Linked DNA regions of Homo sapiens: all the other regions are linked to region 1. The links are contacts of gene promoters, found by promoter capture Hi-C in blood cells and fetal thymus (Javierre and others, 2016). All regions are on one chromosome and are shown on one strand. Each heading gives the region's core, a stretch centred on a gene start or on the middle of the fragment in contact. The rest is flanking DNA. Distances are from core to core; before and after follow the strand shown.

Region 1 (3,635 bases), core at 870-3,369:
AGCATAATCTGTCACTTTACTATCTAAAAATTATGAACTCAAATTAAAAGTCAAGGGAGTAAAACGGAGAGAATTCTGGAGGCCAGCCCGAGTCTGAGCACAGCGCAGGGTTAAAGGAAACCATTTCATAAGATCAAATGTGGAGAGGCAGCAGGAGCAAAGAGGAAAAAATCAAGTTACATAAAGTCCAATTGTACTCACTGTTTCCTTATTGGGAAGCAGCTCCTTTCTAATTCTGAAGAAGTTCTTCCCGTACTGCCTGAGTCCCTTAACGAAGCGTTTCTGTGATAAAAAGAAACAAATGGGATGTAAAAACCAAAAACAAAACAGGATGTCAGCAAAGCAAAGATATCTACAATCAGCAGAATAACAACCACAAAAAAAGTCTCGGCTAGGGAATACTGCCGAGGCTCGGAGAGTATGTCAGCAGCTCAGCTGGGACCCACTGGCCAGGGCAGGCCCCAGCTACCTTCATCAGAACCCCAATCCCACCCACCACGCAGGGCAGCGCGTTTAAGAGAAGGACGTCCTGCGTCTGAGGCTAAGAAGCAATCTGTCCCCCTCTTCCACCAGGCACACATTCTGGTGCACGAAGGTATAAATATGCTCCATGTTTTAATAAAACACAACTGCTTTCCCACCTGAGAACCAAGCTTCCCAGAAGTGTCGAGCAGAAAGGGGAAACAGAACCAAACCCGGTGACTCTTCTCCAGAAGGGAACCCTAGGGGGTTAAAAGGCCGCTTTCCTTAATCCAAAGAATTTGCCAGGAGGCACCGGAAGGCACCAGTATCACAGAAGCCCACCGGGAACACGAAAGCCAGCGGGCCTGCCCCACCGTCCGTCATTAAAAGCCACTCCGAGACACCAGAGAATAACCAGCACCCCTTCCGCCCTCCCGACGCCACTCGCCGCCCCCATCCATTTTCGCAGCAGACTCGTCCCTAACCCCAGCCCGGAGACTTTCACTTTGTCCCATGCCTCCCGAGCACCCCTCCCCGCCCCGGTGGGGGCAGCTCCTGGCTCCGAGCCCCCACCTCGGGGCTCCCAGCCTGGTCCCGGGCGGCCGACCCCAGCAGCCACAGGTAAGCGCCCGGGGTCCGGGGCGGCAAGAGGCCGTCGCCTGTCACTGGGCTCCGGCTCCACAAAGCGCAGGGCGGAGGCGGCCGCGGGTGGCTCGGCGTGTGACCGCGGCGGGGCCGCGCGGCGCGGGGCCCGGGGGGCGCGGGGCTGGGGCCGCCGCTGACGGGGGAGGAGGCAGGAGCGCGGCGCGCAGAGCCCGGCGCGGCCGCGGGCGGCTGCAAAAGGCGGCCTGGATTGCCGCCGCCCTCCTGTCCGCCAGCCGGGGCCCCGCGCCCCGGCCCCGGCCCCGCCCCCGGCCCGACCCCCACCCCGAGGCCGGAGCCTCCAGGGCACCCGGCGCTGGAATCTGTGTCCTCCTTCCGGACAGGAGAACATCAAGGCGGTAAAGCACAGAAACTTCCTCCCTACCGCAGCAAGCGTGGGGAGAGGGCGCCCACAGGGCTGGGGCCCTTCCCAGGCTGCTGGGTCTCCAGCCCACGTTCCGGATGGACGAAGTCGGCTGCGCCCCGGCCGCACGCCCTCCGCCCCAACCCCGCCTCAGCTGCGAAACGGGGGGCTGGCCCCGACGCCCCCCGCGGTCCCTTCCGGCCCGCGATTGTGGGCGGCCTCTCCCTGGCGGCCCAGGCATTAGCCTGCACTTCCCCGGCCGCCGCTTCACAACTAAATCACCGCGGAAGCTTCCCAGCCAATAAATCACCTGCCCACCGGGCAGAGGGTCCCTCCCACTCCCTGTGTTTGAGACCCGCCAGGCGGATTCAGTGAAGGGCCAGACTTAGCCTTTTAAGACCAGTCTGCAACCTCCTACTCCAGTAGTGGAGGCTTTGCGTTTTTGAATTTCACCCTTGCTGAGATATGACTCATCATTGTCAATTTTCAATATAATTCATACAGTTCGAAGGGAAAATCTCTCAAGGCACAAGAAAGCAGCAAGCTCTCCTCTAGTGTGAGGAGTGACCTTTGTTACTTGACAAAAGTATCGTTTATATGATCAACAGGCATCCTACGCTGTGTGCACACAGCATATCACCGGGAGAGACGGCACGGAAAGATGGCCCTGCCCTCAAGGAGCTGCAGTCTGCCCAGGAAGGCAGACAGGTAAACAAACCAGTCCTAGGGCCTGCAAGAAAAGCAGCAGAGGAACAAAGGGTGGTGGGTGAAGCTAGGAAGAGGAAGCAACTTACTCTGCTTGCTGATGTCTTAGAGGAAGTGACAAGGAAGAGTGTGAGCCTGCCAGGTGGGCTCCAGCAGGGCTTCCAGCAGAAGTCAGCCAGGAAAAGGCACAGGGAACATTCTGGGAACTGCAAGGAGGACAGGGTGTGCAGAATGGAGTGCCAGCAGATAAGACGAAAGAGGCAGGCAAGGATCCGGTTGCAGAGAGCCCTTCAGGCCGCACGGAAGAGTTCCTAATTGTAGGCTGGCAGAAAGGCTGAAGCTGGAGCTTTCCATGAAAAGACTGGATGAGGACTGTGCCAGTGGCAGTGTGGCCTAAGTGTAGATTAGGGACAGACCAGTTAAAGAGGCTGCTGACACAGTTCAGGTATGAGATGAGGACCTCAACTACTGGCACACTCCACCTCAGTAATCAGAATTCCTGCCGCTTAATCCATTCTTCAAGTATTCAGGTATTTACTGAGCACCTAGCTGAGAGGGGTCTAGGAAGATAATAAAGGTTGCCATGGACCTTTACTGAACTGTGATTCATTTTTGCACGTAAGATAAGTATGTGTGAAGTCATTACAGAACATTCTGAGATGTCATCTGGCCAAGCATAAAGAAGTGAGGTGCAGCTCATCAGTGCAGCAAGGGACCCAAGAAGGCTAGACTGCAGTGGTCTGTAGTAGTTCAGAATGCCTTCGCCAAGGCAGTGACATCAGCGAGATCACAAGGGGTGGGCAACTATTGCAGGGGTGGGAGGTGGCTTGGTGACCGGGCCCTCCGTGAAGGTCAGAGGTGGAGAATGGGAGGTGGGTTACAGGGGACAGTCTACACAGACTTGGGGCGGGCAATCTGGAGTGAGCCAGGCTGTGGAACGCCAGGACCATGCAATCGGAACGTGGGCTTGATACCAAGTGACATCTAACAGGTCCAGTAAAAGAGGCCTACACAATAAAGGCAGCATGTGAGAAAGGCTGACTCTGGAACATCAGGGTAAGGTGGCAGAGTTGGACAAACAAATTCAGATCCTGTTTCTTCCATTTATTGTGATGCAATCCTTTGAACATCATCCATTCAACCAATAGTTACTAAGTACCTACTATATGCCAGGAGCCTCATATATATTAATTCGAAATCTTTACAACCTAAGAAGAAGTACAATTATTATCCCCATTTTACAGACAAGGAAGCTGAGGCACAGATAGGTAACTAGATCAACTCCTCAGAGACAAAGCCAGAATTCAAACTTAAGCCCCCTCAAATCCTCAGAGCCACACTCTGTAAAATGCAGGCAGGCGTCTACAGTGGTAACTATTTTCTGTTACCATTTTCTATGAGTCTGTACTTTCCTCTTCTCGGGTCCAATGTCAAATCATAAAGTCCTCAGTATTCTTCCTAA
Region 2 (3,903 bases), core at 1,165-3,664, 290 kb after region 1:
AGAAACATCACACAGGGGAAATGTGAAGGGGAACCTTAGCAATAGCTGAACAGGACCCACATTATTCCAGACCCTTAACCTGGAGCAACCACCCTGCATGGACTCTCTCCACCACTCCGCTCTGTCACAGCAAAGGAAGAATCATAACCATATCTTCTGAAGATGGCAACTTTGGGCCACTTTCCAAGACCACCGAGGCAGCAAGGAAACTGCATTTTTACATGAAAGTTTAAACAGTAGCACTCATTTAATAACACTAATAAGTGTCAAAATTCTAACTATCAAGTTACCTGAGACAATCAACATTCTTTCCTATAGCATTATCCAGTACAACCATTCAGACCAAGTAATTTAGCTCACCCATGTCAAAATGTCAAAAGTACACCCCAACGTCATCCAGCAAACAGTGACTGAATCCAGGATTGTATTAGTACCAGTTAGCTATGTCCGCATAGGATGCTAGGGTGGAGAGGATTTGATTTGTAACACAGTACTCCACTTTTATCCACAGTTTCGCTTTCCAAGGCTTCAGTTACCCTGAGTCAACTACAGTTCAAAAATAGGTGACTAAGGTACAGTAAGATACTTTGAGAGGCCACATTCATATAATTTTCATTACAATGTATTGTTATAATTGTTCTTATTATTGATAATTTAATTTCCCTTATAAATCAAATTTTATCATAGGTAGGTATGTGTAGGAAAATAGTAAAAACAGGGTTCAGTATTATCCAGTTTCAGGAACCCACGGGGGCCTTGGAACACATTCCCAAGGGTAAGAGGAAACTACTGTCCTATACAGAATACGGAGGGATATGGTTTGGCTCTTTGTCCGCATCCAAATCTCATCTTGTAGCTCCCATAATTCCCACATGTTGTGGGAAGGACCCGGTTGGAGATAACTGAATCATGGGGGCAGGTCTTTCCCATGCTGTTTTCGTCATAGTGGATAAGTCTCACAACATCTGATGGTTGCTTTTTTGTTTTTGTTTTTGTTTTTGTTTTGAGGCGGAGTCTCACTCTGACCCCCAGGCTGGAGTGCAGTGGCATGATCTCAGCTCACCGCAACCTCTGCTCACCACAACCTCCACCTCCCAGGTTCAAGCAATGCTCCTGTCTCAGCCTCCCAAGTAGCTGGGGACTACAGGTGTGTGCCACCACACCCAGTTAATTTTCTATTTTTAGTAGAGATAGGGTTTCACCATGTTGGCCAGCTGGTCTGGAACTCCTGACCTCACTGAATCCACCCACCTCAGTCTCCGAAAGTGCTGGAATTACAGGCATGAACCACTGAACCCGGCCAATCTGACGGTTTTAAAAATGGGAGTCTCCCTGCACAACCTCTCCATCTCTTTGCCTGCTGTCATCCATAGAAGATGTGACTTGCTCTTCTTTGCCTTCCGCCTCCCCAGCCACGTGGAACTGTGAGTCCACTAAACCTCTTTTCTTCCCAGTCTCTGGTATGTCTTTATCAGCAGCATGAAAATATACTAATACATGGAGTTACAATTTTAAGCAAACTATCTACTTCTTTTGCTTTTCCAACTCACCAAAATGTCACTAGACAACAAAAACTCTGGAGTTTTTTTTTTTTTTTTTTTTTTTTTGAGACAGAGTCTCACTCTGTCGCCCAGGTTGGAGTGCAGTGGTGCAATCTCGGCTCACTGCAAGCTCCATCTCCTGGGTTCACGCCATTCTTCTGCCTCAGCCTCCCGAGTAGCTGGAACTACAGGTGCCCGCCACCACACCCAGCTAATTTATTTTTTTTGTATTTTTTTAGTAGAGACGGCGTTTCACCGTGTTAGCCAGGATGGTCTCGATCTCCTGACCTCATGATCTGCCCGCCTTGGCTTCCCAAAGTGCTGGGATTACAGGCGTGAGCCACCGTGCCCGGCAACTCTAGAGTTTTTAAAAGAAAAAAGAAAAATATAAAATTCTTGAAGCTCTTTTAGATTTTTTAATTTTTTTTTTTCTTATATTGAGACAGGGTCTCAGTATGTTGCCCACGTTGGTCATGAACTCCTGAGCTCAAGCAATCCACCCACCTCGGCCTCCCAAAGTGCTAAGATTACGGGTGAGCCACGGCACCCAGCTCCCTTGTAGATTTTTTTTAGAGTATATGGTCCTACGGAAAATCCAAGCAATTCCACTTAACAGGCTGAAGGTTTACCAGGCTCTTCTCTAGAACATAGGTACAAAAGCATGCACATATACATAAAAACATATGTATTCATTTGTCTGAGGGTTCACTTGTTGATTTTTTGTCACAAAGATGAAATCCCACTATTTATGTTATACAGCAAGTCACTTCTCTCACTTTACAGAAGACCATTAACATCCCATTCTTGTTTATTACTGCAAAGAACTGAACAGTGTGGGAGTCCCATAATTATTATATAACAAGCCCCTTATTGAGTCTTTTTCACATTTTTTACTCTTATAAACAGTGCTACAACAAACTTCTTTGTGCATACATGTATTTCTACACTGAAGGAATCCCTAGTTCAATGAATATACACTCTTTCAGAGAGAGTCAAACAGCCATCCAAAAGCTGTACAACTTATACTCTTACCAGCAGTGGGTCCTGGTCCTGTTCCCATACTCTTATTCTGGTTTTTGTTGGTTTGGTTTTGGATTAGGCACTCTCTTGGATCTCCTACCTTTCTGGCGATTCTCTCTTTCTTTCCATGACTCCTCCTAAATACAAGTAGTCCCTGTCAAGCCTCCTTTTATCACATTCGGCCATCTCACATCAGTGAAAAGATCCACTCTCAAGCTGTTTCTGTGTTTGTGATTCCAAAATTTGATTTTTCCAGCTGAGCTTGCTTCTTAGCAAGAGGCCCACATATGCAAATGCCCTATGGGTTCCACCATAATGGCATTCCACAGACACTCTCAATCCCAAACCAAATCAAAATGTTCTTCCCCCTAAGTCCTGGGGGGACTGTTGCAATCTACGTAATATACTCTTGAATATACTGTTGCAGTCTACGTAATATACTCTTGAAAAATAACTAGAAATAACATCAGATTATAAAAAGAAAACAAAAAGCCCAAGACAGACTGGCCTTTAGTAAAACTCTGAATAGCACACTTTAAAGTGAAATAACATAGGTACAACATTAAGGTTGGGCATTAGTTACAACCTTCCTTCATGTTTTACTTTCCAACATAGTCCCAAACATAGATATTTGTTTGTTTGTTTGTTTTTTGAGACGGAGTCTCGCTGTGTCACCCAGGCTGATGTGCAGTAGCATGATCTCGGCTCATTGCAAGCTCCGCCTCCCAGGTTGATGCCATTCTCCTGCCTCAGCCTCCCTAGTAGCTGGGACTACAGGTGCCCACCACGCCCGGCTAATTTTTTGTATTTTTAGTAGAGACGGGGTTTCACCGTGTTAGCCAGGACGGTCTCAATCTCCTGACCTCTTGATCCGCCTGCCTCAGCCTCCCAAAGTGCTGGGATTACAGGCGTGAGCCACCGTGCCTGGCCATAGTCCCAAACATATTTAAGAGTGATAGGCCAGGCGGAGTAGCTTACACCTGTAAACTACTGGGATTACAGTAGCAAAGTGCTGTAATCCCAGCACTTTGGGAGGCCAAGGCGGGTGGATCACTTAAGGCCAGGAGTTCAAAACCAGCCTGACCAACATGGCAACACCCCATCTCCATTAAAATTACAAAAATTAGCTGGGCATGGTGGCGCATGCCTATAATCCCAGCTACTCGGGAGGCTGAGGCAGGAGAATCACTTGAACCTGGGAGGCGGAGGCTGCTGTGAGCCCAGATCGAGCCACTGCACTCCAGCCTGGGTGACAGAGTGTGACTCTGTCTCCAAAAAAAAAAAAAAAAAAAAAAAAAAAAAAGGGAGTGATAAACTGCTAATAAGTATTTAAAGTATTATA
Region 3 (3,939 bases), core at 382-2,881, 320 kb after region 1:
TACTGATGCTGTGAAATGAAAAGCTCTCAAAGTGGGAGTGGACATACTTTTAAGAGATGATTCCCTTTCATTTAACTTAAAGCCCAAAGGACTTTTCAAAATGAAATTGTTATTCCAACTACACCCAAAAATCATTAAGGCTGCCCCTGGGTGCTCACGTACGTTTTAACAAAAAGCAAGGAATTCTATGTCCTGCTAAAGCAATGGAAAACCCTGATGTAGAAAATGTAAACTGCTTAAGTTCCATATGTGGGTAGTAACGATTTACACCACACCACTTATAACATTATGAGGGTCACACTAACCACAGGGAGAATTCCGTTTCACCTTTGTTTTTCCACATACATGCCCTCTAATAATACAACTCTTCACAAACACTGTATTAGCTGCATTCTTAAACACGCCTACTATCTAAAACATACACAGCAATGTAACTGATGGGTACATTCTCAATCAGGTAATTTTGATAGAAAAAGTATACCAACCAGTGTGCCATTTGGCCATTAAAACAATAGGAAAGACAGAACTGATCTAAATAGCTCATAATATGGTCTAAAAGAGATGACCTTCAAACTTTAGCGATAAAATAAGAAAACACAGAAATAGAGGTGTTAATCAGTTAACAGAAGTCAGTAAGCTAAAACGTACAAAGTTCTACACTGCATTTTGTGGTAAGAGACAAATAAAATATATGTTCCCCATACAAAAAGACTTCTTAAATCTATTAAGATGGAATAAATAGTATGTACAGGATAATGGAGACAAATGCCCATAGTCTAAAATGGAAAACTTCAAAATCACCTAGACCCAAGAAAACAAAAATCACATATTAGGACAATTTGATTTTCCCATGACATACGTGGCGCTGTAGATGCAGTTTATCCTACCTCCAGTCAAGTGGGTCCATGAATAGAAACTCTCAGGTATAAACCACTCCTCTACCACTTCACCCCAGGGCATTCTAGTGACTTCCATGGTGATTTGGTTTGGCTGTATCCTCACCCAAATCTCATCTTGAATTGTAATCCTCATAATCCCCACGTGTCTAGGGAGAGGCCTGGCAGGAGGTGATTGGATCACAGGGCAGTTTCCCCCATGATGTTCTAGAGATGGTGAGTGCTCAGGAGATCTGAGGGATTTATAAGGGGCTCTTCCTCCTTTGCTCCTCACTCGCTCGTGCCACCTTGTGAAGGTGCCTGCTTTGCCTTTTGCCATGATTGTAAGTTTCCTGAGGCCTCTCCAGCTACATAGAATTGGGAGTCAATTAAACCTCTTTTCTTTATAAATTAAACAGGCTCAGGTATTTCTTTATAGCAGTGCAAAGACAGACTAATACACATGGTTACGTTTCTCTCAACTACTGACACTTGGCATGTCCAGCTATTATAATTTCATTTCTATCTCCCAAATGTTTTCCATCTGTCCCATTCCATTCCAGACCACCGTTGGCCTAGGTTCAGCTGTCATGATCGCCTGGCTAAACTGCAAAAGGAGGTGCGATGACATTATACTCCTGCTTAAAACTTCTACAGGATTCCACGGTTCACTGAATGAAGTCTAAACTCCTTAATACTCTAATATACGGATTGGACCTCTGTCCTCAGCCCCTTCTCTTCCAGGCTTGAACCTCCATGTCTTGGCATACATACTTTTCCACCCCCTAACATATATTCCCTTTCTTTTCTGTTTTAAAACATCTTTCTTACTGGTCGTGAACGGTGGCTCACACCGGTAATACTAGCACTTTGGGAGGCTGTGGTAGGAGAATCGCTTGAGCCCAGGAATTCAAGACCAGCCTAGGCAACACAGGCAGATCTTATCTTTACAAAAATTAAAAATTAGCCAAGCATGGCAGCACATGCCTGTGGTCCCAGCTACTCGAGAGGCTGAAGCAGGATTGCTTGAACCCAGGAAGTTGAGGCTGCAATGAGCCATGATCCTGCCACTGCACTGCAGCCTGGGCTGCTGAGCAAGAGCCTATCTCAAAACAAAACCAAATAAAATTCCTCTTACTTTTGAAAGGCCCAGTTTAAATGTAACCTCTGTGAAAATTTCTTTGATCCTCACAATCAGAATTATTTGTTGCCTTCAGGGTATTGCCAAAGTACTCTGTTTATATCTCTGTTCAAAGAGATTGTATCTATGTTAACGTAAATCATAGTCTGATGATAGCTTTTGTCTGTTTAACAAAGCACCCTCCTTACTGACTTTACTCTAGGGAACTACCACTTCATATGGGGACCTAATAACATGTAGTTTGGGTGGATCCAGGGTTGCTCACCATACTAAATCCTCCTGGCCACCATGACTTGTTCAAGAATGGACCCATGTCTCAGTAAGAACCACTGAGAACCCTCCCCATAACTTCTGCTAGAACCACCAGAAGAAGAAAAAAAATACAAAGCCTATTTTATAATAAATTTGAATATCTCATGTAACTTATTGAATACAGAAAGTGAAAAACAAAATGGTTATATGGTACTCAAAGTATGGTTTCTATTGACTGTGTATCATTTTTGCACCATCATAAACTTACAAAATTCTAAGTCAAAGAATCATAAGTCAGAGACTATACTGACATACGAGTCATGATCGTGGTCTGACTTACATTACAATTAATTGTACTCAGGGCCAAAGAAACAGTTATAAGAGGACACCTGGCAGATAAGAGAAACAGCAAGAAGGCCTGTGTGGCTGGGGCAAGCAAGTGTGGGAGCGTGTATGGGGGGGAAGTGAGAGAGAAGGAGGGCAGGCAGGGGAGGGAGGGGAGAGAGAAGAGAGATGGGGGAACAAAAAAGAGAGAGAGAGAGAGAGAGAGAAAGGGAGAGGGAGAGAGAGACAGAGCCAGACAGACAGACACCCCAAGATGGCATTGTGAAAGGTCAAGCTATTGCAAAGTCCCAAGCAGAAGAGGGACAGGATCTGACTTAACTTTCTTTTTTGTTTTTTGAGACGGAGTCTCGCTCTGTCGCCCAGGCTGGAGCGATCTTGGCTCACTGCAAGCTCCGCCTCCCGGGTCCACGCCATTCTCCTGCCTCAGCCTCCCGAGTAGCTGGGACTACAGGGGCCCACCACCACACCCAGCTAATTTTTTGTATTTTTAGTAGAGACAGGGTTTCACCATGTTAACCTGGATGGTCTCGATCTCCTGACCTCGTGATCTGACCACCTCGGCCTCCCAAAGTGCTGGGATTACAGGCATGAGCCACCGCGCCCAGCCCTGACTTAACTTTTAAAAGGATCCTTAGGCTTGCTGTGTTGTGAAAACAAATGGCATGGGGGTGGGCATGGAAGTGGGAGGTGGGCAGGGAGAACAAGACCTGTTAAGAACCTGCTAGGGTAACCAGGCCAGAGGTGATGAAGGCTCAAAGAAAGTTTTGTCCAATTTTTTTTTTTAAACACCCTAATTTTTTTTGCTACCAATTACAACTTTGGAAAGACAGATAAATCAACACATGATATTCATACTTGATTTACTGAGTATCTACTATATTTAAGACACTCTAAATATTACCTTATCTAGTTACAGAACTATCTTCCTAAACTCAAAGCCCATATGCAAACGGTGAACTGGAATTCTCTAACTAAATATCCCATACACATTTTACCCCCAAAACCTAATCCTCCTTTACTCTCTAATCTCATTATCTCATTAATATTATTTCCTAGCCTAGTTGTTACTAAAGATAATAAGAGAGTAGGTATATTTGAGACAGAGCTTTGCTCTGTCGCCCGCGCTGGAGTACAATGGCACAATCTCAGCTCACTGCCGAGAACTCCGCCTCCCGGGTTCAAGTAATTCTCCTGCCTCAGCCTCCCGAGTAGCTAGGATTACAGGTGCATGCCACCACACCCAGCTAATTTTTGTATTTATTTTAGTAGAGATGGGGTTTCACCATGTTGGCTAGCCTGGTCTCGAACTCCTGACCTCAAGTGATC
Region 4 (3,587 bases), core at 334-2,833, 300 kb after region 1:
GTCTCCCTCTATTGCCTAGGCTGGAGTGCAGTGGCACGACCTCAGCTCACTGCAACCTCCACCTCCTGAGTTCAAGCAATTCCCCTACCTCAGCCTCCAGAGTAGCTGGGATCACAGCCATGCACCACCACACCCAGCTCATTTTTGTACTCTTAGTAGAGACGGGTTTTCACCATGTTGGCCAGGCTGGTCTCAAACTCCTGACCTCAGGTGATCCACCCGCCTTTGGCTCCCAAAGTGCTGGGATTACAGCATGAGCCACTGGGCCCAGCCAACTGACCTTTTTTCAGTGGATTAGTAGTCTTTTTTTTGGAGGGCGCGGGGTGGGGGGAAAGGAGTCTCGCTCTGTAGCCCAGGCTGGAGTGCAGTGGCGCGATCTCGGCTCACTACAACCTCCGCCTCCAGGGTTCAAGCGATTCTCCTGCCTCAGCCTCGTGAGTAGCTGGGATTACAGGCATGCGCCACCATGCGCAGCTAATTTTGTATTTTTCATAGAGACAGAATTTCTCCATGTTGGTCAGGCTGGTCTTGAACTGCCGACCTCAGGTGATCCGCCCGCCTCAGCCTCTTAAAGGGCTGGGATTACAGATGTGAGCCACCGCATCTGGCTAGTAGTCATTATTAAAACATACAATATTTCAATTACCCACTGTTTTTTATTTTTTTGTTGTTTGTTTGTTTTGGACAGCGTCTCGCTCTGTCGCCAGGCTGTTGTGCAGTGGCACAATCTCAGCTTACTGCAACCTCTGCCTCCCGGGTTCAAGCGATTCTCCTGCCTCCGCCTCCCAAGTAACTGGGACTACAGGCACGCGCCACCACGTCCAGCTGATTTTTGTATTTTTGGTAGAGACGGTGTTTCACCATGTTGGCCAGGATGGTCTTGATCTCTTAACCTCGTGATCCGCCAGCCTCGGCCTCTCAAAGTGCTGGGATTACAGGTGTGAGCCACTGAGCCCGGCCAATTACCCACTATTCTTAAAGGTCAGCAGTACTTCCCCAAAGGACAGGAATGCACCCCAAACAGAATCTTCTAATTTGCTTATTTAAAAAAAGTTTTAAATAGCTCAAACTGCAAAGACTTCTAAAACAAAGACCACTTGTAGCATATATTAATTAATCCATGTAGCCCAGAGTTTTGTCTAGCAAAACCCAAGTTCACACATTTGACCACATGCACACGAACCTCAGCCAACGCAGCCAACGCTCCCCAGAGGCTACTTCTGCAGCTAAGCATCTGTCCTTTCAGCTCCTGGCAGTTCCTGCCTTTTCTCTTGCCAGGCAACCAGAGCTCTAAAGGGATCTTAATGCACTAATGAGAAGCCATGACAACCAAGACCTGCGGTAGCTGCAAAGCACAAACACCAGTATCCACTTTTACTGAGCACGCATGCAATAAGCAATGTGCTAAGGAATCCAAGTAAATTAAAATCATTCCTCTAACCTAATAACTCCATAGGCACCTATAACACACCATAACTTGAAACTTTCTATCATTCTTTATATTTAAGAACTTATTAAAAGGCAGGCTTTACCATGCACCACTGGTAGTATAGCTTGCCTCAGCTGTTATAGTAACTATAGAAGTAGGGTTATTTTCTTGTTTGTTTCAATCTAGAGTCATAAGAGACCATCAAAAAAAAAAAAACCCTATTGAAACCATGTTTAGAGCGAAAAAGTCTATATTCTTTTTAGGGGATTAGTAGTCACCATTAAAAGGTATGATATTTCAATTACCCACAGTTATTTGAGATCAGCAGTATTTCCTCAAAGGACAGCACCTAAAACGGAATTTTCTCTAGGCACCTGTGGTATACCATAACACCAAAAAGCATCCCTCAAAAAAGAAACTAAAACTAAGATGCTATGCTCCATACCCAGATATCTGTTATTACTTCTGAAAACAATCTAAGTAATCTTGGGGATCCCATCCAGTAGATAAAAACGATGGCATCCTTTGGGGCATAAAGTGAAGGTAAGATTTCCACAGGCTCTGAAACAGCAGCTAGCAACTAGGGCCAAGAGACTGCACCTGTTTTTGAAAATAAACTTTTATAGCCAGGCGCAGTGGCTCATGCCTGTAATCCCAGCACTTTGGGAGGCCGAGGCAGGTGATCATCCGAGGTCGGGAGTTCAAGACCAGCCTGACCAACATGGAGAAACCCTGTCTCTACTAAAAATACAAAATTAGCTGGGCATGGTGGCGCAAGCCTGTAATCCTAGCTACTCAGGAGGCTGAGGCAGAGAATCGTTTGAACCCGGGAGGTGGAAGCTGCGGTGAGCTGAGATCGTGCCACACCATTGCACTCCAGCCTGGGCAACAAGAGTGAGACTCCATCTCAATCAATCAATCAATCAATCAAGTTTTATTAGAAGTCAGCTACACCGATTTTTTTTTTTTTTTTTTTTTATTGAGATGGAGTCTCGCTCTGTTGCCCAGGCTGGAGTGCAGTGGCACAATCTCAGCTCACCACAACCTCTGCCTCCCTGGTTTCAAGTGATTCTCCTGCCTCAGCCTCCCAAGTAGCTGGGACTACAGGCACGTGCCACCATGCCTGGCTAATTTTTGTATTTTTAGTAGAGACGGGGTTTCACCACGTTGGCCAGGCTGGTTTCGAACTCTTGACCTTGTGATCCACCCGCCTCGGCCTCCCAAAGTGCTGGGGTTACAGGCATGAGCCACTGCACCTGGCCTTATTTTTTTATGTGTATTTTCTATGGTTGTTTGTCTTCCCACTACAATGGCAGAGTTCCATACTTGAAACAGAGACCATACAACCTGAAAAGACTAAATATTTACTATATCTGGCCCTTTACAGAAAAAGACTGCCAACAGCAAACATCTCCAGCCTTCTCCAGATCACAACTTAAGAGGAATGTCATGTGCATGAGGCTAAGGAGTGTGGGCTGGCTTGAGATGGAAAAGGGGATTATGACTGCTATCCACCCTATACTACATATTAAGAAAATGAAATTATGGGAACTCATGGGAAGAAAGAATGACAGATGCAGCTGATTCCTCCCATATGATGGTTCACATCAGGCTTTTCCAAAGACTGAATGAAGAGCTCTAAGGTTTTCTTTCAGGTATTTAAAAAATCTTATGTAAGGGATGGCAGGGGAAAATAAAATTTTCTATATAACATACTATTTCACTCACATCAATGTTACACTGAAGCTCACACCTGAGATAGGCTGATATTTCTTTCAAAGAGAAGATTTCAAGTAAGCTTCCAAATAGCTATGATAATGTGTATGAATAGAACCAGATCCCAGAATGAACTTGAGGTAAATACCAAGGACTGAAATCAGTGAACCATCAAAACAAATATACTTGTCAAACATACAATACACAAGATGAAATATAATGAATCCCTTTGAAGGTCACTATATGTAGATACAAAAATACAGCTTGAAGATGATCTAGTCAAGAGACCCAGGTTCTAGTCCGGGTTTTGACTCTCCCTGTAACTTAGAAAAGTAATTTCCCCCATTTGTTTTTGGGGTTTTTTTTGTTTTTGTTTTTGTTTTTGAGACAGAGTCTCGCTCTGTTGCCCAGGCTGGAGTGCAGTGGCGCGATCTCGGCTCAC
Region 5 (3,637 bases), core at 203-2,702, 340 kb after region 1:
GTTCCCACGCTGTCTTCCCTTTCCCTCATCACTGCCTCCTCCAGGTCAAAGAATATCCCCAGGGCAAGTTGCAGCTGCTCCTTATGCACTCAGCCCTGGCCTCAGAGTACACATGGGTTTTGCCTCATCTATGACTCTTGGGGGAAGCTTACTATGCAGAGAGCAACTGCAATGTGTCGCTCTCTATAGGATCCCAGCCAGGTGCCTTAGTGCCATCGGGAAAATGAGAGGAAACAAGGAACACACAAAAATCATGAAATACTGCTTCGGGTACTAACTCCAAGACAGAATTTTTTTCTTAAGTTAAATGTTTAAAAACAAAAAAAAGCTACAGTCATCTATGTATTCAGTCATCCAGTCAATCCCATGCCAAGTATAATCTCTGTTAACTATGCTTAGTGTGGTCAGAAAGGAAGTCTAGATAAACAATCACAACAACAGAGTGGGCTGAATGCAAACAGCCGGGGTTCAAGGAAGGCTCCCTGAAGAAAATTACCTGTAAACTGAAGCAAGCAAGAGGTGACCAGGCTAAGAAGAAAAGAATGTTCACCACACAGCCATTACTCAGGGACGTAATTCACCCAGATTTCTATTTTTAAAAGATCAAAGGCTCCAAAAAAGCAAAGGGCCAGTAAGCACAAGACAGAGGCTCAACCTCATTAGGGAAATGCAAATCAAAACTGTAAGATACCACTTCACACCCATCAGAATGGCTACAATCCAAAACCCAGATAGTAAGTATTAGTGCTAATGTGGAAAAACTGCAAGGTTCATGCATTGCTAGTAAAATTGTAACATGGTGTAGCCACTTTGGAAAACAGTTTGTCAGTTTCTCAAAATGTTAAACAGAGGTTCCATACCCCCCAAAAATTTCACTCTTAGGCTTTGGAAGTCACCCCAAGAGAAATGCAAATACACATCCTCACAGAAGTTTGTACATGAACGTTCACAACAGCATTTTTTTAACAGCCAAAAAGTAGAACCATTCAAAGTGTCCATCAACTAGTGAATAAATAAAATGTGGCATAGCCACACAATGGACTATGATTTGGCATTTATTGGGAATGAAGTACAGATGTTATGCTACCACATGGGTGAACCTTGAAAACATTATACTAAGTCAAAGCAGCCAGTTACAAAAGACTACATGATTCAATTAACGTGAAATGTCCAGAATAGGCAAATCCATAAAGACAGAAAGAAGATTAAGGGCTGCTTAGGGCTGGGGGATGAGTAGAGGAGGAAATGAGGAGTAACTGCTCATGGATACAGGATTTCTTCTGGGCATAATTAAATGTTCTGAAATTGCAGTGATGATTGCACAACTCTGTGAACACAAAAAACAATTGAATTGTACAATTTAAGTAGGTAAATTATATGATATGTGAATTGTATCTCAATAAAGCTGTTATAAAACCAAACAAAAGGCCGGATGCGGTGGCTCATGTCTGTAATACCAGCACTTTGGGAGGCTGAGGTGGATGGATCACCCGAGGTCAGGAGTTCAAAACCAGCCAGGTCAACCTGGTGAAACCCCATCTCTACTAAAAATACAAAATTATGCCAGGCGAGGTAGCTCATACCTGTAATCTCAGCACTTTGGGAGACCGAGGCAGGCGGATCACAAGGTCAGGAGATCGAGACCATCCTGGCCAACATGGTGAAACCCCGTCTCTACTAAAAATACAAAAATTAGTAGGACATGGTGGCACGTGCCTGCAATCCCGGCTACCCGGGAGGCTGAGGCAAGAGAATCGCTTGAACCAGGGAGTCGGAGGTTGCAGTGAGTCAAGATCGCACCACTGCACTCCAGCCTGGCGACAGAGCGAGACTCCGTCTCAAAAAAAAAAAAATTAGCCGAGTGTGCTGGTGCATGCCTGTAATCCTAGCTACTTGGGAGGCTGAGGCAGGAGAATCACTTGAACCTGGGAGGCAGAGGTTGCAGTGAGCTGAGATTGCAACACTGCACTCCAGCCTGGGCAACAATGAAACTGCATCTCAAAACAACAACAACAAAAAGAAAAAACAAACAAAAGATCAAAAGGACTACAGCAGTGAAGAACAAAATTTCTAATTTTGTTAGAAATTAGAGGATTTGAACATGCCAACTGGTTTGGAATCTATAAAGTAATTCAAGCAAGAGACAGTGGCCAGGTGCAGTGGCTCACGCCTATAATCCCCGCACTTGGGAGGCCAAGGCTGGCAGACCACTTGAGGTCGGGAGTTCAAGACCAGCCTGGCCAACATGGTGAAACCCCATCTCTACTAAAAATCAAAAAATTAGCTGGATGTAGTGGCACGCACCTATAATCCCAGCTACTCAGGAGGCTGACGTGGGAGAATCACTTGAACCCAGGAGGTGGAGGTTGCAGTCAGCCAAGAGCCAAGATTACACCACTGCCCTCCAGCCTAGGCAACACAGCAAGACTCCATTGCAAAAAAAAAAAAAAAAAGAAAAGAAAAAAAAGAGAGAGAGAGAGACAGTGGCCTGAACTAGCGTAATGGATTAGGAAGAGATAAGAGATACAGGAAAAAGAAACAATACTTGATTCTATATAGTGGGGAGAAGAGAAGGAATCAACACAGCCCAGGGTTACTTACTTAGAAAATTGAGTAGCATTTATCAAAACAGGAAAACACAGAAAGACATGTTTGGGAGCAGGAAAATTCACAATATTGTGAAATTTAATTATATTTACAAAAGTTATATAAGGACTTAGAGAAGGTTTTAAGAAGGTTTTGTTTTAAGGTTTTGTTGGAAGCTTTCTTGGGCATTTATCTAATTTTAAAATGCAATTTAATGTTAGTTATGTTTATAAGTAGAACTGGATATTTAAACAGAATTCAACTTGAATTAATCAACATGTATCAAAAACTGCATTATTTTTCTTTTACCTTTATATAAAATGTACTGAATTAATGAATAGACTAATATGATTTATAAACTGAACTCAAGGCTCAAGGAAAATTGGACTTTAAACTTTTTAACAATAAATTGACTATTCATTTTCTACACCAGAAACTGTAAGTAGTTGGGTATCACTGGCATGTAGCATTACTGGTTGAAAACCGAGAAGTTCTAATTTGATGGCTTCTATTTTCTCTGGAAATGAGGTCATCAATTCAGGAAATGGAACGGAAGGATGGGTGGTATGAGAAAGTAGACCAGGAATCCAAGGTTTGATACATAATTGAAATAAAAGCAATGGAGGCCAGGCACAGTGGCTCATGCCTGTAATCCCAATACTTTAGGAGTCTGGGGCAGGACAATTGCTTGAGCCAGAATTTGAGACCAGCCTGGGCAACATGGTGAAATCTCATCTCTACAAAAAGCAAGTCAAAATTAGCTGGGTGATGTGGTGCACATCTGTATTAATCCCAGCTACTTGGGAGGCCAAGGCAGGAGGATCACTTGAACCAGTAGGTGGAGGCTGCAGTAAACCAAGATTGCACCACTGCACTCCAACCTGGGCTGCAGAGTGAGGCCTTGTCTCAAAAAAAAAAAAAGAGAAAGAAAAAAAATGCTGCTTATCAAAAAGGATGGGATTTCTAAATAAAAAGCTTTCTTTATTAAAAAAAATTAAAAATAGCCTGTAATCCCAGCACTTTGGGAGGCCAAGGCAGGCGGATCACTTGA
Region 6 (3,746 bases), core at 457-2,956, 260 kb after region 1:
GGTCTCACTATGTTACTCAGGGTGGTCTCAAACTCCTGGGCTCAAGCAATCCTCTCTTCTAGGCTGCCCAAAGCACTGGGATTATAGGAGTGACATACCACACCCAGCCCAAATTTGGATTTTAAAGAACTAATTTGATGCTTCCATAGAGAGGAACTTTTAAACTACACATTTCCTGATTCAACAGTTTACCTACTACACACAGAAAGGCTTTCCAGGAAGCATTTTATATTTGCTAAATAACGGTAAGTAAAATATTTTAAAGTCATCCAAGTTTCAATAACAATTATCATTACTTCCTTACTTTGAAAGCTACAACCATATTTCCAAGTATTAAAACAACAAAATACAAATAATCCTAAGAAATCCACAATAAAGATTTATCTATTAAGGCCGGGCGCGGTGGCTCACGCCTGTAATCCCAGCACTTTAGGAGGCCGAGGTGGGTGGATCGCGAGGTCAGGAGATCTAGACCATCCTGGCTAACACGGTGAAACCCTGTCTCTACTAAAAACACACACACAAAAAAACAAAAAAAATCAGCCGGGTGTGGTGGCACGCCCCTGTAGTCCCAGCTACTCTACTGTTTAGAATCGTTTTCAATGTCCAAAAATGTGACTGCTTTAGAGATGCCAAATAAGACTAATTTAAATAACCTAAGATTGCTCCAATTACCGCTGGTTTTTCAGGTGGTACAATGTATAAACCAAAGAAAAGAAGCTGGTGCATAAAACTCAGCTGGCTGAAGAAGTTAAAAATAAAACTCCACAATGATATGTGGTTTGGGGAAAAACATCAGAGTTCCATTTAGACATGTTAAGTGTTAGGTGCTTACTGGACATGTGAGTGGAGCTATATCTTCTGAGTGGAGATACAAGGAAGGCAGCTAAGTAGGTCTGGACTAAAGATAACATTTTAAACTCTTTAGGTAATTTTTTTTTTTTTTTTTGGAAACAAGGTCTCACATCCATCACCCAGGCTGGAGAGCAGTAGCACGATCTCAGCTCACTGCAGCCTCGACTTCCCAAGCTCAGGCAATCCTCCCACCTCAGACTCCCAAGTAGCTGGGACTACAGATGCACATCACCATGCCTGGCTAATTTATTGTATTTTTAGTAGAGACGGGGTTTTGCCATGTTGCCCAGGATGGTCTTGAACTCCTGGGATCAAGCAATCCGCTCGTCTTGGCCTCTCACGGTGCTAGGATTACAGGTGTAAGCCACTGTGTCTAGCCTGCATTTAGGTAATTTTTAAAGCCATGCATCCTAGGGAATTACGTAGAAATTCAACAAATATTTATCAGACACCTATTATGTGCTGGAGATAGAGCAGTAAACCAAAGAGTCAAAATTCTCTGTCATTCAGGACTTTACATTCTGGTGGAAGAAACAAGACAATAAGCAATAAAAATAAAGATGTAGCCGGGCACGGTGGCTCATGCCTGTAATCCCAGCACTTTGGGAGGCCAAGGCGGGTGGATCACCTGAGGTCAGGAGTTCAAGACCAGCCTGGCCAACATGGTGAAACCCCATCTCCACTAAAAATACAAAAATTAGCTGGGTGTGGTGGTGGGTGCCTGTAATCTCAGCTACTTGGGAGGCTGAGGCAGCAGGATCACTTGAACCCGGGAGGTGGCGGTTGCAGTAAACTGAGATTACGCCATTGTACTGCAGCCTAGGCGACAAGAGCGAAACTCAGTCTCAAAAAAAAAATAAAGGTGTAGTTTGTGATGAAGACAAGTACTCTAGGGGAAAACAGAGCAGAGTAAGGACAAAGTAGAGCCGAGACTGAGGGTCAAGGTAGGCCTCTCACTGAGACTCGAAAGCGGGACGGTGAGCTACAGATATTTGGAGAAACATATCCCAGGCAGAAGGAACAGTCAGTGCAGAGGCCTTAGTGATCATCACAAGGGCAGTTTCCCTGGAGCAACAACGGATGGATTTAAGAGGAAAGGAGAACTGGAGATCTGGGTACAGAAAACTCTTGTTGAGAAGTTTTTCTGCAAAGGAAGCAGAGAAATCAGCAATAGCTGGCAGAGTAAGTGGGATCCAAATACGGGAGTTTGTATCTGTTTTAAGATTGGAGAAAAGCGGCATGTTTGTATGCTGCTGGGAAAGATCCAGCAGAGAATGAAACATCAACATTATGAGAGACAGGAAATTACTATGTGAGAGGGCACGGGTGGCGCCTCAGAGAGTTCCCTGAACAGCTGGTCTATACACAAGCAGTGGGGAAAGCACAGGATGCCCTGGAAGGTGGCAAGATGTGGTAGGAGTCTGCAGAAGGGCTCTTAAGACTGTTCTGATTTTCTCATGCAAGTAGGAAGCCCACCATGAGGCCAAGGAGGAAGTATAAAAGGACAATGTATGAAACAGGCATCTAAGAAACTGCATAAGTGAATGGACTTGCCCAGGAGCCTTAAAGCTCCATTTGACGTTTATTAACCAATTGGGAATTAACACTGAGAAACTCACCAAATCTGAGACATAAAGGCTGACTCTGACTTTCTACTATAAATAAAAAATTCTCTAACAAACTGCTGAAAATGGTCAGTGTCTAACATATTTGAATATACAATACTTGGGGAGAGTCGTAATTTCTCCAAATAATGTGTTGAAAGAGATTACATCCCATTTTCACACCATATTCATAATTGCTTCGTCATACATAACTTGAAGGGAGTCATCAGTCATTGAAGGATTTAATAACCTTAAGCTGAAGTTAACTCCCTTATGTCAGACCACAGTAAACAAAAGCAGGGTTTTAATGCCTTAAGCCAATTATATATTGCAAAGTAAAACATCTTATATTCTTATTCACAGAAGTACAAATTTAGTTTTAGTTTAGTTATATTCTTATTCACAGAAGTACAAATTTACACAAAAAGATTATCTAACAGCATTCAATTAATCACCAAGAACTGCCATATAAAAATCTATTTCTAATAATATGGTCCTGGTTGCACAACTCTATGAACACAGATGGTCCCCAACTTAAGAGGGTCTAACATACGATTTTTTCAAATTAACAACAGTCCAAAAGTGATACGCATTCAGTGGAAAACATACTCTAGGTAACCACACAACTATTCCATTTTTCACTTTCAGTTCAGGGCACAGCGACTAACGCCTATAATCTCAACACTTTGGAAGGCCAAGTCAGGAGGATCGCTTGAACCAACGAGTTTGAGAGGAGCCTGGAGAACATGAGACCCCTATCTCTACAAAAAATTTAAGGCCAGGCATGGTGGCTCATGCCTGTAATCCCAACACTTTGGGAGGCAAAGGCGGATGACCTGAACTCAGGAGTCGAAGACCAGCCTGGGTAACATGGTGAAACCCCGTCTCTACTAAAAATACAAAAATCAGCTGGGCGCAGCACCTGCTATTGTAATCCTAGCTACTTGGGAGGCTGAGGCAGAAGAATCCCTTGAACCCAGGAGGTGGAGGTTGCAGTGAGCCAAAATTGTACCACTGCACTCCAGCCTGGGCAAAAGAGTAAGACTCCATCTCAAAAAAAAAAAAATTAAAATTAAAATTAAAAAATTAGCCAGGCATAGTGGCACACACCTGTAGCCTCCCAGCTACTCCAGAAGCTAAGGTGGGAGGATAACTTGAGCATGGGAGCTATGATCGTGCCACTGGGCAAAACATCTATCTGTCTGTCCATTTGTCCATCCATTCATCCACTCATACATATATACCATGAGATATCCAACACTTTCTTATATAATAGGATTTATGTTA

What was found. The method cuts DNA at HindIII sites, captures the fragments that hold promoters and counts their contacts. A CHiCAGO score of 5 or more calls a contact.
Region 2: a fragment that was not itself captured here is called in contact with the fragment with the promoter of RERE-AS1 in region 1 in 14 of 17 cell types (total B cells, naive B cells, megakaryocytes and 11 more); the score reaches 18.5 in total B cells.
Region 3: a contact is called between a fragment that was not itself captured here and the fragment with the promoter of RERE-AS1 in region 1, in 1 of 17 cell types (total B cells). The highest score is 6.1, in total B cells.
Region 4: a contact is called between a fragment that was not itself captured here and the fragment with the promoter of RERE-AS1 in region 1, in 9 of 17 cell types (total B cells, activated CD4 T cells, naive B cells and 6 more). The highest score is 10.3, in total B cells.
Region 5: a fragment that was not itself captured here is called in contact with the fragment with the promoter of RERE-AS1 in region 1 in 2 of 17 cell types (naive B cells and total B cells); the score reaches 7.3 in naive B cells.
Region 6: a fragment that was not itself captured here is called in contact with the fragment with the promoter of RERE-AS1 in region 1 in 6 of 17 cell types (total B cells, megakaryocytes, naive B cells and 3 more); the score reaches 8.5 in total B cells.

The regions. Positions count from the first base shown.
Region 1 is chr1:8,422,526-8,426,160 of GRCh38, forward strand. It overlaps RERE-AS1 (RERE antisense RNA 1), which reads left to right and starts at 2,120. Exons shown (of 4, transcript NR_125999.1): 1 at 2,120-2,176. It overlaps RERE (arginine-glutamic acid dipeptide repeats), which reads right to left. Exons shown (of 23, transcript NM_001042681.2): 12 at 202-282. RefSeq lists silencers at 920-1,259, 1,570-1,709. The HindIII fragment of the contact is 3,073 bases long and covers 1,757-3,635 here.
Region 2 is chr1:8,707,324-8,711,226 of GRCh38, forward strand. The region is part of intron 1 of RERE (arginine-glutamic acid dipeptide repeats); the gene reads right to left. Among named protein-coding and RNA genes, the nearest start is that of RERE, 110 kb to the right of the region's middle. RefSeq lists an enhancer at 3,000-3,500. The HindIII fragment of the contact is 6,249 bases long and covers 1-3,903 here.
Region 3 is chr1:8,744,081-8,748,019 of GRCh38, forward strand. The region is part of intron 1 of RERE (arginine-glutamic acid dipeptide repeats); the gene reads right to left. Among named protein-coding and RNA genes, the nearest start is that of RERE, 72 kb to the right of the region's middle. The HindIII fragment of the contact is 5,613 bases long and covers 1-3,939 here.
Region 4 is chr1:8,726,832-8,730,418 of GRCh38, forward strand. All of the region lies in intron 1 of RERE (arginine-glutamic acid dipeptide repeats), which reads right to left. Among named protein-coding and RNA genes, the nearest start is that of RERE, 89 kb to the right of the region's middle. RefSeq lists an enhancer at 3,581-3,587. The HindIII fragment of the contact is 3,283 bases long and covers 1-3,225 here.
Region 5 is chr1:8,764,111-8,767,747 of GRCh38, forward strand. The region is part of intron 1 of RERE (arginine-glutamic acid dipeptide repeats); the gene reads right to left. Among named protein-coding and RNA genes, the nearest start is that of RERE, 52 kb to the right of the region's middle. RefSeq lists an enhancer at 1-10. The HindIII fragment of the contact is 2,615 bases long and covers 146-2,760 here.
Region 6 is chr1:8,685,049-8,688,794 of GRCh38, forward strand. The region is part of intron 1 of RERE (arginine-glutamic acid dipeptide repeats); the gene reads right to left. Among named protein-coding and RNA genes, the nearest start is that of RERE, 130 kb to the right of the region's middle. RefSeq lists a silencer at 2,208-2,257. The HindIII fragment of the contact is 4,572 bases long and covers 1-3,746 here.